Regions from separate parts of the Homo sapiens genome. Here all the other regions are linked to region 4. The links are contacts of gene promoters, found by promoter capture Hi-C in blood cells and fetal thymus (Javierre and others, 2016). All regions are on one chromosome and are shown on one strand. Each heading gives the region's core, a stretch centred on a gene start or on the middle of the fragment in contact. The rest is flanking DNA. Distances are from core to core; before and after follow the strand shown.

Region 1 (3,150 bases), core at 506-3,005, 280 kb before region 4:
AAAATGTATTTACATACTGCTAAACAATGCACAAGGGCAATTTAGCTTTGAATTTGAGATATATAATTTGATTTATGAGTAGCAAACTTTATGCTTTAATAATAAAAGACTAATAATTTTACAAGGGTGGATTTGAGACATATTTTAGAACATAAAATTAAGTTACAAAACTAAGAACTAGAATTTTTTCCAACTATGTGAAATGTCAACATTCTTTTTTTTCAAATCACATATTCTAAAGTAAAAGCTATCACAAAAATTAGTAATTATTTTAATCAACAAATCTTTAATATTCTTAAGCTTAATTGATAATGTTATACATGGGCAACATTCCTTATATTTAACATCCCAAAGCCTTGGTATATATATTTTAAACCTGAAAATTATGTACATATCATTTTCTAATTTGGCATTGAGAAGGTAATTTTGTTCCATATTATATGAACCAAGTCTCCAGAGCATCTCTGATATGTCACTTATATCGGTGTTCATTTTCAGCATCCGTTTCATATTACAATTAAATATGTACATTCTTATTTTTTTGAGACAGGGTCTTACTCTGTAACCCAAGCTAGAGTGCACTGGCACAATCACAGCTCACTGCAGCCTTGAACTACTGGGCTCAAGCAATCCTCCTGCCTCAGCCCCTGGAGTTGCTGGGACCACAGGCACATGCAAATACACCAGGCCCAGGCTAACTTTTCATTTTTTACTTTTTGTATAGGCAGGGTTTCACTATGTTGCCCAGGTTAATCTCAAACTCTTGGACTCAAGCCATCCTCCTACCTTGGCCTCACAAAGTGCTGGGATTACTGGTGTGAGCCACTGCATCTGGTCTGTTCTTTTATTTTATTTTATTTTATTATTATTAAAGTTTTAGGGTACATGTGCACAATGTGAAGGTTAGATACATATGTATACATGTGCCACGCTGGTGTGCTGCACCCATTAACTCGTCATTTAGCATTAGGTATATCTCCTAATGCTATCCCTCTCCCTTCCTCCCACCCCACAACAGTCCTCAGAGTGTGATGTTCCCCTTCCTGCGTCCATGTGTTCTCATTGTTCAATTCCCACCTATGAGTAAGAACATGTGGTGTTTGGTTTTTTGTCCTTGGGATAGTTTGCTGAGAATGATGATTTCCAATTTCATCCATGTCCCTACAAAGGACATGAACTCATCATTTTTTATGGCTGCATAGTATTCCATGGTGTATATGTGCCACATTTTCTTAATCCACTCTATCATTGTTGGACATTTGGCTTGGTTCCAAGTCTTTGCTATTGTGAATAGTGCCGCAATAAACATATGTGTGCATGTGTCTTTATAGCAGCATGATTTATAGTCCTTTGGGTATATACCCAGTAATGGGATGGCTGGGTCAAATGGTATTTCTAGTTCTAGATCCCTGAGGAATCGCCACACTGACTTCCACAATGGTTGAACTAGTTTACAGTCCCACCAACAGTGTAAGTGTTTCTATTTCTCCACATCCTCTCCAGCACCTGTTGTTTCCTGACTTTTTAATGACTGCCATTCTAACTGGTGTGAGATGGTATCTCATTGTGGTTTTGATTTGCATTTCTCTGATGGCCAGTGATGGTGAGCATTTTTTCATGTGTTTTTTGGCTGCATAAATGTCTTCTTTTGAGAAGTATCTGTTCATGTCCTTCGCCCACTTTTTGATGGGGTTGTTTTTTTCCTGTAAATTTGTTTGAGTTCATTGTAGATTCTAGATATTAGCCCTTTGTCAGATGAGTAGGTTGTGAAAATTTTCTCCCATTTTGTAGGTTGCCTGTTCACTCTGATGGTAGTTTCTTTTGCTGTGAAGAAGCTCTTTAGTTTAATTAGATCTCATTTGTCAATTTTGGCTTTTGTTGCCATTGCTTTTGATGTTTTAGACACGAAGTCCTTGCCCATGCCTATGTCCTCAATGGTAATGCCTAAGTTTTCTTCTAGGGTTTTTATGGTTTTAGATCTAATGTTTAAGTCTTTAATCCATCTTGAATTAATTTTTGTATAAGGTGTAAGGAAGGGATCCAGTTTCAGCTTTCTACATATGGCTAGCCAGTTTTCCCAGCACCATTTATTAAATAGGGAATCCCTTCCCCATTGCTTGTTTTTCTCAGGTTTGTCAAAGATCAGATAGGTGTAGATATGCGGCATTATTTCTGAGGGCTCTGTTCTGTTCCATTGATCTATATCTCTGTTTTGGTACCAGTACCATGCTGTTTTGGTTACTGTAGCCTTGTAGTATAGTTTGAAGTCAGGTAGCGTGATGCCTCCAGCTTTGTTCTTTTGGCTTAGGATTGACTTGGCAATGCGGGCTCTTTTTTGGTTCCATATGAACTTTAGTTTTTTCCAACTCTGTGAAGAAAGTCATTGGTAGCTTGATGGGGATGGCATTGAATCTATAAATTACCTTGGGCAGTATGGCGATTTTCATGATATTGATTCTTCCTACCCATGAGCATGGAATGTTCTTCCATTTCTTTGTATCTTCTTTTATTTCATTAAGCAGTGGTTTGTAGTTCTCCTTGAAGAGGTCCTTCACATCCCTTCTAAGTTGGATTCCTAGGTACTTTATTCTCTTTGAAGCAATTGTGAATGGGAGTTCACTCATGATTTGGCTCTCTGTTTGTCTGTTATTGGTGTATAAGAATGCTTGTGATTTTTGTACATTGATTTTGTATCCTGAGACTTTGCTGAAGTTGCTTATCAGCTTAAGGAGATTTTGGGCTGAGACAATGGGGTTTTCTAGATATACAATCATGTCATCTGCAAACAGGGACAATTTGACTTCCTCTTTTCCTAATTGAATATCCTTTATTTCCTTCTCCTGCATGATTGCCCTGGCCAGAACTTCCAACACTATGTTGAATAGGAGTGGTGAGAGAGGGCATCCCTGTCTTGTGCCAGTTTTCAAAGGGAATGCTTCCAGTTTTTGCCCATTCAGTATGATATTGGCTGTGGGTTTGTCATAGATAGCTCTTCTAATTTGGAGATACGTCCCATCAATACCTAATTTATTGTTTTTAGCATGAATGGGCTGAACTTTGTCAAAGGCCTTTTCTGCATCTATTGAGATAAACATGTGGTTTTTGTCTTTGGTTCTGTTTATATGCTGGATTACATTTATTGATTTGCGT
Region 2 (3,081 bases), core at 36-2,535, 440 kb before region 4:
AAATTGTTATTCAAAGGACTGCACCATATCACATTTCCCATTAGTAATGTAAGAGAGTTCCAGGTGCTCCATGTCCTCACCAATGTGTAGTATTATAAATATTTTTAATTTTAGCCATTCTAATGCATGTAATGGTACCTCATTGTGTTTTTAATTTGTGTTTCCCTAATGATGAATGAGCATTTTTCATGTCCTTATTTAGCATTTGGATATCTTCTTTGGTGAACTGGCAGTTCAAATCTTTTGCCCATTTGTTTCTCATTTACTATTTGAAACTCATTCAAAAAGAAATAGATAGTAATCCATTATCAGTTAAGGAAATTAGATTTGTACTTATCCTTCTCACAAAGAAGGATCTGATGACTTCAGTGGTGAACTTAACATTAAGGTATAACTATTACCAATTCAACTGGGAATACTTCCCAGTTCATTTTATGAGTCCAGCTTTACCCTGATACCAAAACCAAAGACATTACAGAAAAAGAAAACTAAAAATAAATTTCTCTCATGACATAGCCCCCACACCCAAATTTAACAGATTTGAACAAATCAAATCCAGTAATATATAAAAAAGGTAATACATCATGACCAAGTGGTTGGTATTTGTCTCAGAATGTAAGTTTGGTTTAATACTAAAAACTGTTAGTGTAATTCACCATATTAACAGACTGAAAAAGTAAAATTGACTAATTATCTCAATAGATGCACATAAAGCATTTGACAAAATTCAATTTCGATTCATGATAAAAGCTCAGCAAACCAGGAATAGATGGGAATTTCTTCATTCTGATCAAAAATCAGGCATGGAAGACCTACAGGTAACATTATAGTTAGTTGTAAAAGACTGAATGCTTTCCTCTAGGATTATGTCCTATCTTATTACTCTTACTACTTATATTCATCACTGTACTGGAGATCCTGGAAATGGGGCGGAGGTTGGGTAGGGTGGAGGCAGGGGGTAGAGGAAGCATGGCCAGTGGACAAGAGGAAGTAAAACTTTCTTCCTTTGTAGGCAACATGATTATCTACATGGAAAATCCTAAAGAATTCTCAAATAGGTTACAAGAATGAATAAGTAAGATTAGAAAAGTTGAAATATGCAAGTTTATTAAACAAAGATCAATTGTATCTTTTTTTGGTCACTATATTAGGGTTCTCTAGAAGGACAGAACTAATAGGATAGATGCATATATAAAGGGGAGTTTATTAAGGAGTATTGGCTTACACGATCACAAGGTCCCACAATAGGCCATCTGCAAGCTGAGGAGCAAGGAAGCCAGTCCGAGTCCCAAAGCTGAAGAACTTGGAGTCCAATGTTCAAGGGCAGGAAGCATCTGGCACGGGAGGAAGGTGTAGTCTGGGAGGCTAAGCCAGTCTAATGTTTTCACGTTCCTCTGCCTGCTTTTATTCTGGCTACACTGGCCGCTGATTAGATTAGCTGATTAGATTAGCTGATTAGATTGTTACCGCCCAGATTAAGGGTGGATCTGCCTTTCCCAGTCCACTGACTCAAATATTAATCTCCTTTGGCAGCACCCTCACAGACACACCCAGGAAAAATACTTTGCATCCTTCAATCCAAACAAGTTGCCACTCAGTATTAACCATCACAGTCACAAAGAGTTAGGACTTGAGAATTTAAAATATAACATTTGGGCTGGACGTGGTGGCTCACGCCTGTAATCCCAGCACTTTGGGAGGCCGAGGCAAGCAGATCACGAGGTCAGGAGATCGAGACCATCCTGGCTAACATGGTGAAACCCCGTCTCTACTAAAAATAAAAAAAATTAGCTGGGCATGGTGGCGGGCACCTGTAGTCCCAGCTACTCGGGAGGCTGAGGTAGGAGAATGGCATGAACCCGGGAGGCGGAGGTTGTAGTGAGCCAAGATTGCACCACTGCACTCCAACCTGGGCAACAGAGTGAGATTCTGTTTCAAAAGAAAAATAAAATAAAATAAAATGTAACACAATGGCATCTAAAAACATGAAAATACCTAGGTATAAATTTAACAAAATGTGTGCAACACCTGGATACTAAAACATAAAACTTCATGGAATGAAATTAAAGAAAGACAGGTTAATAGAGAGATATTCCACATTTATGAGTCAGAAAACTCAATAATGTTAAAATCTCAGTTCTTCCCAAATTAATGTATAGACTCAACACAATCCAAATCAATATTCTAACAGATTTTTTATAGAAATCAATAGTTATTTAAATGTTTTTATTAAAATGCAAAATTATTTTGAAAAAGATAAAAGTTGGAGGAATTACACTGCCTGATTTTAAGATTTATCACAAAGCTACATAATTAGGGCAATGTGGTGTTGGATAGACAGATAGATCTGTGGAACAGAATGGGGGCCTAGAAATAGATCCACACATATATTGTCAATTGATTTTCAGTGAAGGTGCCAATGTAATGCCATAGGGAAAGGAAAGTCTTTTCAAAAAGCCACTGGATGTCCATAAGAAAATAAAATGATTCTTTACCCTAATCTCACATGTTATACACAATTTATTTACATAAATGGATAATAGAACTAACTGTAAGAGCCGAACTATAAAGCTTCTAGAAGAAAATATGTTTTTAAAAAATTGAACTGGGTTAACACAAAGACTTTATTATACAGGATATAAAAAGTGCAAACCTTGAAAGATAAAAATTAATTAACTGGATTTCTTTAAAATCATAAACTTTAGCTCTTCAAAATTCACTGTTAAGAAAATGAAAAGCAAGCCACTGAGTTGGAGAAAATACTTGTGAAACGTATATATTATAAAAGATTGTAGCCAGAATATATAAAGAACTATTTAAGCCATTTAAACAGGTGTGTAATGGTATCTGATTGGGGTTTTAATTTGTTTTTTCCTAATGATTAATGATAGTAAGTAATTTTTGTTTTTTGGTCTGTTTCTGTTTTGTTCTGTTCCGTTTTTAACCACCCATATCTCACTGTTGGTAAAGTGTTTGTTCAAATCATTTGCCTATTCTTTTCTTTTTATTGGGCTCTTTCCCCTTATATTTCTTTTCTTTTCTTTTTTTTTTTTTTTTTTTTTTTTATTTGAGACAGGGTCT
Region 3 (2,830 bases), core at 309-2,808, 300 kb before region 4:
AAAGGATACATGCTACTTTGCGTGTAAATTTGTATGGAGATAGATAATACTATAGACACAAAAACATACACTCTCAATTTTTTTTAGTAAAATAACATGTATTTATGTCAAAGTAAAATTTAGAACAGTTAAATAATCACTTCTCTGTGATGAAAATATACATATACATATTTTTTCAGTTTACAACGATTTCTTTTTCCCTAGCAGAAGTACAGCTATGTCTCAGTGGGTTGACTAAAATCCACTGAGACATTTCTGCAAAATCTTTTAGTTATGGGGTATTACAACTGATTGTATGTGAAAATGTGTTCTGTATTGTTCATATTCTCGTAAGGAAAAATGCTATCAATTTGGCACAGAACAGAAGGAAGGTTTAGACTAACCTTCTCCATTCAAGGATTTGGAGTTTTTATAATATTTTACCGATTCCAAAGAACTCTACACATATGGTGCAAAGATAAAAATTGTGAACTGAATTTTCTGAAACCGGCCTAGACTTACTTAAATATATCTTGTGAGAGAGACAGAAAAGAAAAAAGACAAAATACTTTGAAAACAAGGAAAGCAGACTTCCTATAAAATGTAATTTATTATCTGCCCATCTTTCTTTCTTGCTTGGATTAATCCAACACCACATGCATTTCTAAAGTTTCAGACATTCATCTCTTTCAGTAATTTTCTATTATTTCTTTTGGACCTTTAGCTGTAGAAAGCTTCAGTGAATATGAGATCCTATTTCTTTCTAATATAATATCTGTCATTCTTTCCAGAATTTCTATTAGCCCCTGGCTAATCATCTGATCACTTTTATCCTTTGTTGTACCCTCAACTCTTTGGTTTTCAAATGGGAGTACTATTTCATTAGATTCCAGTCTGAAGAATCATGTATATTTTAAGAAATATGAACTCACCAAACGTGTTTCTCTCTCAAAGAAGACCTCACATACAAGATACAAATATAATAAAACATGCAAAACATTGCTTCTTTTCTAGAGAATGTTAGTATATATTTTAAGAGTATACAACCACAGAACTTACTATAGGGGAAAACCCACACGGATTAAGCCAGTAAAACAAAGGCCACCACCATTCTATTCACTATGAAAATTATTTTTTTCTTAATCACAAGTAAACTTTCATGTAAGAACTAGCTAGCACTTTAACACATTATATTATATATAATACAGAAAAGAAACAAAAAGATTACCAAATACACATTAAGTTAGGAAATATATCTTAATTAAATTCATACAAAAGAACAATCAGCTCAATAAAATGAACTGGAAAAGTTTTAAAGATATACTATTGATAGGAATGCTCATATTGCCTTTGTTTTTAACTAAAAGGTTTACTAGATCAAATAGCTGTCTGCCACAGTTTTTGTCTTATGTCTTTTATAAATGGCATAAGAAAGTGTTTAAGCACTTATCTTACAGACCAATCATAAGCAAAAATTTGCAAATGATTTTGGGTGACATGGACACCTAGTATAGATTCCTAAAACAAGACACACCATGTTCTACTCTAAATTAATAGCTGCAACTGGGTCATCCACAAGAGCCATGCATATAGTTAAGTGGCCCCAAACCACCAAAGCCAAAATCAGTGCCAGAAGATATACCTTGATGTCAGGTATTCAGCCATTATAAATCACTTAGTTTTAGCACATTAACTAAATAGGTATTCTTTTCTACTTAATTTTAAACTAATATAACTCATTTAATAGAAACTTCTCTGGGAAAAAATAAAACATCTGTCAACTGAAAACACAGAAGTTGAAAGCACTCTTTAAAAACAACATGGAGAAGCAACAGTAATATTAAAAAGTGACTAAAATGGGGTAAAATCTGATTAGGTAATAGCAAGTTGCAAGGTGTTAATATCTGCTGATCTAATTATAAAGTGAAATAAATGAATTGGGCCCGGGAGGTTGAGAGGAGAGATGTTAGAAACACAGAAACAGGGAAGGGACTCTGGGCAGAGATCCATGAAAACAGCTAACATCTTTGTTTTTTAGATGCCTACTGTATGCTTGGTAGTATTCTACACAAGTTATTTCCTCACTTAATCTTTACACAAACCTGTGAGGTACATATTACTTATTTCACAGAATATAAGGAAGCACAAAGAAGTAACTTGCCCAAGCTAGTGATGGTGCAAACAGCCCGCCTGGGTTGAGAAACTCGTTCTATTAACTAGTATGCCATGAGAAAGTGCAGGAGCAAAGTGAAAAAGTAAACCAACAAAACAAAGACAAATAAGGAAAGTCTACCAGAAGTACCACTCTTCAGAATTATTTTTCTTTTTTAAATCAGTATTTAAACAAACTACTTTTGAATGCTGAGATTAACAGTTGACTTCAAAGGAAATGAATATCACAGAGAACATTAGTCAGAAGCTTTAGTAACACTTAGAATTTTCATTTCATCTTGAGATATATTTTCAATGTATTTCATTTTTCAGTATTGGAGCTCCTTTGGTGATGTGATTAGTTCAAAATTCATGGAGTTTCATGATGAGATTCTATTGCATCTACTGCTATGACTCTACTGTATTTACGGCTGTGATTGTAGTTCTGAAGAGGAAGTTTCCTATTCTCACGTATTTGAAATATTAACACTCCACTGAAATCCAAAAAATAAAAATCAGTCTCTGTGCTTCCAAATACTGTATTCTTATGAGTTATTTTTCGCAGCACTCTGAAAATGCTTCCCAAGTTGTCGTTATTAAGCATACAAACTTAAAAAAAACAAACCAACCCTAATTGGAGTTTGGGCCTAAGACATCATTACAGTTTATGAAGATAAGAATCTTTTTTGTTAAACATGTA
Region 4 (2,782 bases), core at 247-2,746:
GCAATAAAATAAAGCCTGTCTACAAAAAAAAAGAAAATCTCACCAAGTTTATCATGACGGCAGGTGACCTAGACAGCTGCTTTGTAATATGCTGAAGTAGGCAGCTATGAGTAGCTGGGAAGCATACACAATACAAGGCCACCCTGAAGCAAAGGTTAGGATGATGTCATTAAAATGTTGAATTTTGAGAGGCCGAGGCGGACGGATCACGAGGTCAGGAGATCGAGACCATCCTGGCTAACGTGGTGAAACCCCGTCTCTACTAAAAAATACAAAAAAAAAAAAAAAAAAAAAATTAGCTGGGCGTGGTGGCGGGCGCCTGTAGTCCCAGCTACTCGGGAGGCTGAGGCAGGAGAATGGCGTGAACCCAGGAGGCGGAGCTTGCAGTGAGCCGAGATCACACCACTGCACTCCAGCCTGGGCGACAGAGCGAGACTCCATCTCGGGGGGAAAAAAAGTTGAATTTTGAGAAAGAGCAGCAGCAGGCAAACCCAACTGACCTACAGTAATCAAAGAAGCAGAAATGGATCATCCCTTTTGGAATTAAGATCTTGTGCAAATTACAAAGGAAAGAGACACAACTGCAAACAACAAAAGACTCTACCCCCACTTCAGCATCAAACCAGAGGGCAATCTGTCTATGCTGTGGAAAAGGGCTTCTGATCCTGCACTGATCTGGATGACACCCGCACATTCAGTGTTTCTAGCCTATCATCGTTAAAAAAGAAATACTCATATACTTACATTAAAAAGTTCATGTAGAAAACTTAAATTTCCATATTTAAAGCTTAGATCTCTTCCACACGACTCATCCAGGATAAACTTATGGTTTAATATTCTACATGTTTAATTATACCATGTTCAACTCAGTTGGGTTGCCAGCCCTCCACGTGGCTTAAGGTTAAGTACATTTTTTGAAGGCTTCTTGTTTTTGTCTTCTCAGTGTGCTATTTATGCTGCTAATTATAAGGTTTTCAAGCATTTTTCCCTCTTTGGAATTTTAATTTACTGTAAATGCTTGCCCCTTAGAACATTTCCTAGTGTCATTTTATTTTTGACCGTTTTGAATACAAAATCCTTGATAAAGACATCCAAAAAGAGGGAGAATGGGGAACAGGGACATACTGGGGGGCTTCTGAATTGTCCTCTGAAGTTTTGTCATCTAGATGCTGAGGGTGGTCTCTTTGTTAAAAATTTAACCATCCAGACCTTAAGGCCACACAATTAATATTCCCTCTGGAATTGTAGGGCCTCTGTTTGAAAGAGTTGTCCAGTTTTCAGGCCACATTAGGTAATTTCCCGCCCAGGAGCGTGGCTTGGAAAGAATGTCGGTGTTTTCCTTCAGGTATAGGTGCCTGGGGGTCAGGAGGGGAGGGAAAGGCGAGGGGTGGAGTGGGAGGCGGGTGATCGACAGGGATAGAAACTGTGTCTCCTCCTCCCTCTGAATGCGAAATAGCCAATGAGGTGGCTAGGCCGGGCCGGCCCGGCCGCCACTGCCATATAGTATGCAGCAACCGGAGGAGTCACGTTGGGGGAACGGCAGAAAGCAGCTATCCGTTTACACTACTTTGCTCTAACAGCTATCTTAATGGTGACTGCGTGGCCGGGGGGAAACCTGATCGGCCAGATACAGCCGAAACCAGGAGGGAGGGAGTGGGCTTTCCGGAGGGGGAGAGGAGGGAGGGAGACGAAGGAGGAGGAGTAAGAGAGGAGGAAAGAAAGAGGAAAAGAGTGCGAGGGAGTGAGGGAGGGAGGAAAATAAACAACAAAAAATGTCCTCTTCCTCCCCCACCGGGCAGATCGCAAGTGCGGCGGACATCAAGCAAGAGAATGGGATGGAAAGCGCCTCGGAAGGGCAGGAGGCGCACCGAGAAGTGGCGGGGGGCGCGGCGGTAGGGCTGAGCCCCCCGGCTCCAGCCCCTTTTCCCCTGGAGCCGGGGGACGCCGCGACCGCTGCCGCCAGGGTGAGCGGAGAGGAAGGGGCAGTGGCGGCGGCGGCGGCCGGAGCGGCGGCGGATCAGGTACAACTCCACTCGGAACTTCTGGGCAGGCACCACCACGCCGCCGCCGCCGCCGCGCAGACCCCGCTGGCCTTCTCGCCCGACCACGTCGCCTGCGTGTGCGAGGCACTGCAGCAGGGGGGCAACCTGGACCGCCTGGCCCGGTTCCTGTGGTCCCTGCCCCAGAGCGACCTGCTACGTGGCAACGAGAGCCTGCTGAAGGCGCGGGCGCTCGTGGCCTTCCACCAGGGCATCTACCCCGAGCTCTACAGCATCCTCGAGAGCCACAGCTTCGAGTCGGCCAACCACCCGCTGCTGCAGCAGCTCTGGTACAAGGCGCGCTACACCGAGGCCGAGCGAGCCCGCGGCCGGCCGCTGGGAGCCGTAGACAAGTACCGGCTGCGCAGGAAATTCCCCCTGCCCCGCACCATCTGGGACGGCGAGGAGACGGTGTATTGTTTCAAGGAGAAGTCGCGCAACGCGCTCAAGGAGCTCTACAAGCAGAATCGCTACCCTTCGCCCGCCGAGAAGCGGCACCTGGCCAAGATCACCGGCCTCTCCCTCACCCAGGTCAGCAACTGGTTCAAGAACCGCCGGCAGCGCGACAGGAACCCCTCCGAGACCCAGTCCAAAAGGTGAGCGCCAACTTTCCTCCTCCTCCCCCTTCCTCTCCCCCACCCCCTTCCCGGCTTTCTTTTCCTCCAAGTGCTCGCAAACATGGCGCTTACCTTCCCCACCAGCCTGGTCCGGCTGCCCACCTCTCCCCGCCCCCTACCTCGCTC
Region 5 (3,039 bases), core at 390-2,889, 370 kb before region 4:
TTCAGAGACCCTGCAGGATTTAACATCCCAAACCAAATATACTGTTATGTGTTCCCAAACTATTTTTTCTCAGGGCTAAAGGGAAATTCCCATGAAGTGCTATTTTTCCAGAATGTAGCCCCCTGTCAATGCCAAAGAGAATACTTTAAAAATGATATTTCTCAATATTAGGGCACATTATGGATACAAAATCTTAGCCCAAATCCCCTTGGTCATATAAAACATGTCACATAATTGTATTTTCGGTTAGGAAGGAGTGTTACAAAATAAATATTTCCCCATTAGAACATACTGGGAAATGTTTGCTGACACCTACACTCAAACCCAGCAGGTTCCCTTGGAAGAGTTTGGCAAAGAACAGGCCCCTCCTTAATGAGGTGCTGGAGTTGGTTGAAAATTCAATATTAATTTACAAAAAATGGTTGCATTTAAGAAGTCAAAACTGAGGCCTGCTTGTGGGCGTCTGTGCCTTCTGCATTCTGGGTCTGTGAAATATCCTGGGTCAACCGAGGATCACTGTCCTTGATTGGATTGCATCAGTCTTTCTCTTTCTAAAGCAGTCTGTGGAAAACATCAAGAAGGGTTTTGTTTTGTTTTCTCAGAATTTTTTTTCCTTTCTCTATTTCTCCTACTGGAAAATTCTTACCACAATTGTTGATGGTTGTTTCATTTGATTTTAAGAGATGCATGGCCGCAAGGGCCGTGGGAGTACAAATCAATAGCTGTGATCACTGCTGGATCCTCTTGGAGGGTTTTCCCCTTTTTTGCCTGTAGCACACAATCTACATAGTCCTTGAGGGGAGCCTTACCTGGCCTGGTTCGGGCTTTTCTCTAGCTGCCAGATTGAAGTGTGACAACCACAGAGGTGGCTGTGGGGCTTTTGCTCCTCTCCTCTTGTCCCCAGAAGATTTAGAGTCCGCATTCTCAGCTACTCGGGTGCTCTCAGTTCCAGATCCAGTCATTTCCCCTCTAGCTCCCCTGTTCTTAACAGAGTCCCTCTCCATACTCACTCACTCACTGACTCACTTAATTCACACAATACTTTGTCTAGATCTGTGACCTTAATTTGTAAGTGCAGTGATGGTTGCACATTAGTTATTATGCTGGTCCTTCCAACACAAACTGCATACATTTTCATCCTCTAAGGTCCTAGAACTATTTTTCTGCACTCTAATGCTGGAATTTCAAGACACCAAAACAAAACAGGTGGGATTTAGAGGCAGGCTGGCCTTGGAGGTGGTCTTTCAATCACAATCCGCTCTGACTGCTCTATTCAGATCTTGGGAATGAAGTTTCGACAACATCTGGGACTGAAGTCAGTTTACATATTTTGATACCATGTCAATCCAAAAGGAATTCTTTTGGAGGTGTTTGGGTTTGAGGTACTTGAGCAAATGATTCTAAAGTATATTTAAGAGAACAGATATGTGAGAATAGCCAAGAAAATTTTTAAAAAGAGAATAAGGGCAGGGTCCATGCTTGATTAGCTATGAAAACACAGGAGTTCCCCTCCTGCTTACTATAAAGAAAGCTTAAAATAGTGTCTCTCCCACCCTAACAACAACAATAAAGTCAGATGACCAAAAACCCATACCTTTTCTTGAGTCCACCAGAAAGCTGAGATCACACGGAACCCAAAAGCCTGAAATCTAAGGAAAGGCTGCGTCCCCAAGAAGAGATGTGGCTGAGTATGGGAAGAAACACTGGGTGCCATACAAAAACATAAAAAGAATTCATCTAAAGCTTTTAACAAATTACTAAAGGCCAGAAGCAGACTAGCATGAGTGTAGCACCCCTGGGGGCTGCAGACACAAGAGGAATTGGTGCCCACTTGCAGGCTCTTCTCCACTCCCTTCCACCTACTGATTGAGAAAGGACTGAAGGCAGGGTGGGAGAGCAAAGAAGCCTCCCTGCACAGTGCAGGCCCAGGAAAGAGGGGCAACATTGCTGAAGGAAAGGCATAAGGCTACAGCCACACCCTCCTCCCACCTAAGCCACTGGGGAGGGACAGTACAGCCTGTTGCAGTCAGGGCACAGGTGAAGACCTACTGCAGCTTGGGGAAGGGGAAAGCCAAAACACCCTTGATCCCTGGGGAACGGGCAAGAAACAGTCCTGAGCCCCAGATCCAGACATTCTCTCCTGCACATGACACAAGGCAGGGTTCAGCTGCCACAGGAGGAGGAGGAGGAGGGGCAGGATTTCTGAGAAAGCCTTACTCCTAAGATCCAGGCATACAGGGCCTGCCAAAGCCTGAGAGTGTACTAGGATCAAGCGCACCCCTGACTCCCCAGCACTAAGTAACAAGCAACAACATTCTACCCCAAGGCTGAAGACTTCTCATTAAATATTAAAACTTCTGAAATCTTGAAATTGTTTAATTAATTGAGTAATTTAGCCCTAGCATAGATTAAGGAGACATTAAGAAAAGTTCAGAAATACAGAGTTCACAAATTCAAACATACTTAAGAATTTAGTAACTCTGAAGAAAATGTTAGCTAGTACCTCGTACCTTAAAACAAAATTAGTTCTATATGATTATTTTATTAAAAAAAAACACATAAGAGTACCAGTAAAAAATGTAAATACTGTTACCATTTTGGGACGGGAAAGTTATTTTGAAGTATCAACCAAAGACAGAAACTATAAAGCATTGTTTAATAGACTATATACAAATGGGGAAAAAATTCAGAATAGAATAAACAAAGCAAAAACACAAATAAAAATTGGGGGAAAATAGCAATATACATGGCCATTATACCTTAATATATATGATGTATAGATCCACAGATGTTAGACAGATAGATGCCTTAATATAAAAGGAGAATCATTTGAACCTGGGAGGTGGAGGTTGCAATGAGCTGAGATCATGCCACTGCACTCCAGCCTGGGTGACAGACAGAGACTCCATCTCAAAAAAAAAATTATATATATATACACACACACACACACATATATATATATATATATATATATATATATATACATACACACACACATATATATATATACACACATATATATATATATACTTATATATA

Evidence for each region. Contacts are between HindIII fragments. The CHiCAGO score rates a contact against its expected background, and 5 or more counts as called.
Region 1: a contact is called between a fragment that was not itself captured here and the fragment with the promoter of SIX4 in region 4, in 1 of 17 cell types (endothelial precursors). The highest score is 5.6, in endothelial precursors.
Region 2: a fragment that was not itself captured here is called in contact with the fragment with the promoter of SIX4 in region 4 in 1 of 17 cell types (endothelial precursors); the score reaches 5.2 in endothelial precursors.
Region 3: a contact is called between a fragment that was not itself captured here and the fragment with the promoter of SIX4 in region 4, in 9 of 17 cell types (endothelial precursors, megakaryocytes, erythroblasts and 6 more). The highest score is 14.5, in endothelial precursors.
Region 5: a fragment that was not itself captured here is called in contact with the fragment with the promoter of SIX4 in region 4 in 1 of 17 cell types (erythroblasts); the score reaches 5.8 in erythroblasts.

The regions. Positions count from the first base shown.
Region 1 is chr14:61,005,035-61,008,184 of GRCh38, reverse strand. The region is part of intron 3 of SLC38A6 (solute carrier family 38 member 6); the gene reads right to left. Among named protein-coding and RNA genes, the nearest start is that of SLC38A6, 25 kb to the right of the region's middle. The HindIII fragment of the contact is 2,906 bases long and covers 303-3,150 here.
Region 2 is chr14:61,164,352-61,167,432 of GRCh38, reverse strand. No RefSeq gene overlaps it. Among named protein-coding and RNA genes, the nearest start is that of TMEM30B, 120 kb to the left of the region's middle. The HindIII fragment of the contact is 2,576 bases long and covers 1-2,573 here.
Region 3 is chr14:61,026,069-61,028,898 of GRCh38, reverse strand. The region is part of intron 5 of SLC38A6 (solute carrier family 38 member 6); the gene reads right to left. Among named protein-coding and RNA genes, the nearest start is that of SLC38A6, 46 kb to the right of the region's middle. The HindIII fragment of the contact is 1,685 bases long and covers 716-2,400 here.
Region 4 is chr14:60,723,065-60,725,846 of GRCh38, reverse strand. SIX4 (SIX homeobox 4) reads left to right here and starts at 1,496. Exons shown (of 3, transcript NM_017420.5): 1 at 1,496-2,635. The coding sequence starts at 1,773. RefSeq lists a silencer at 2,014-2,083. The HindIII fragment of the contact is 4,809 bases long and covers 790-2,782 here.
Region 5 is chr14:61,088,485-61,091,523 of GRCh38, reverse strand. No RefSeq gene overlaps it. Among named protein-coding and RNA genes, the nearest start is that of SLC38A6, 110 kb to the right of the region's middle. RefSeq lists enhancers at 795-934, 1,998-2,499. The HindIII fragment of the contact is 212 bases long and covers 1,534-1,745 here.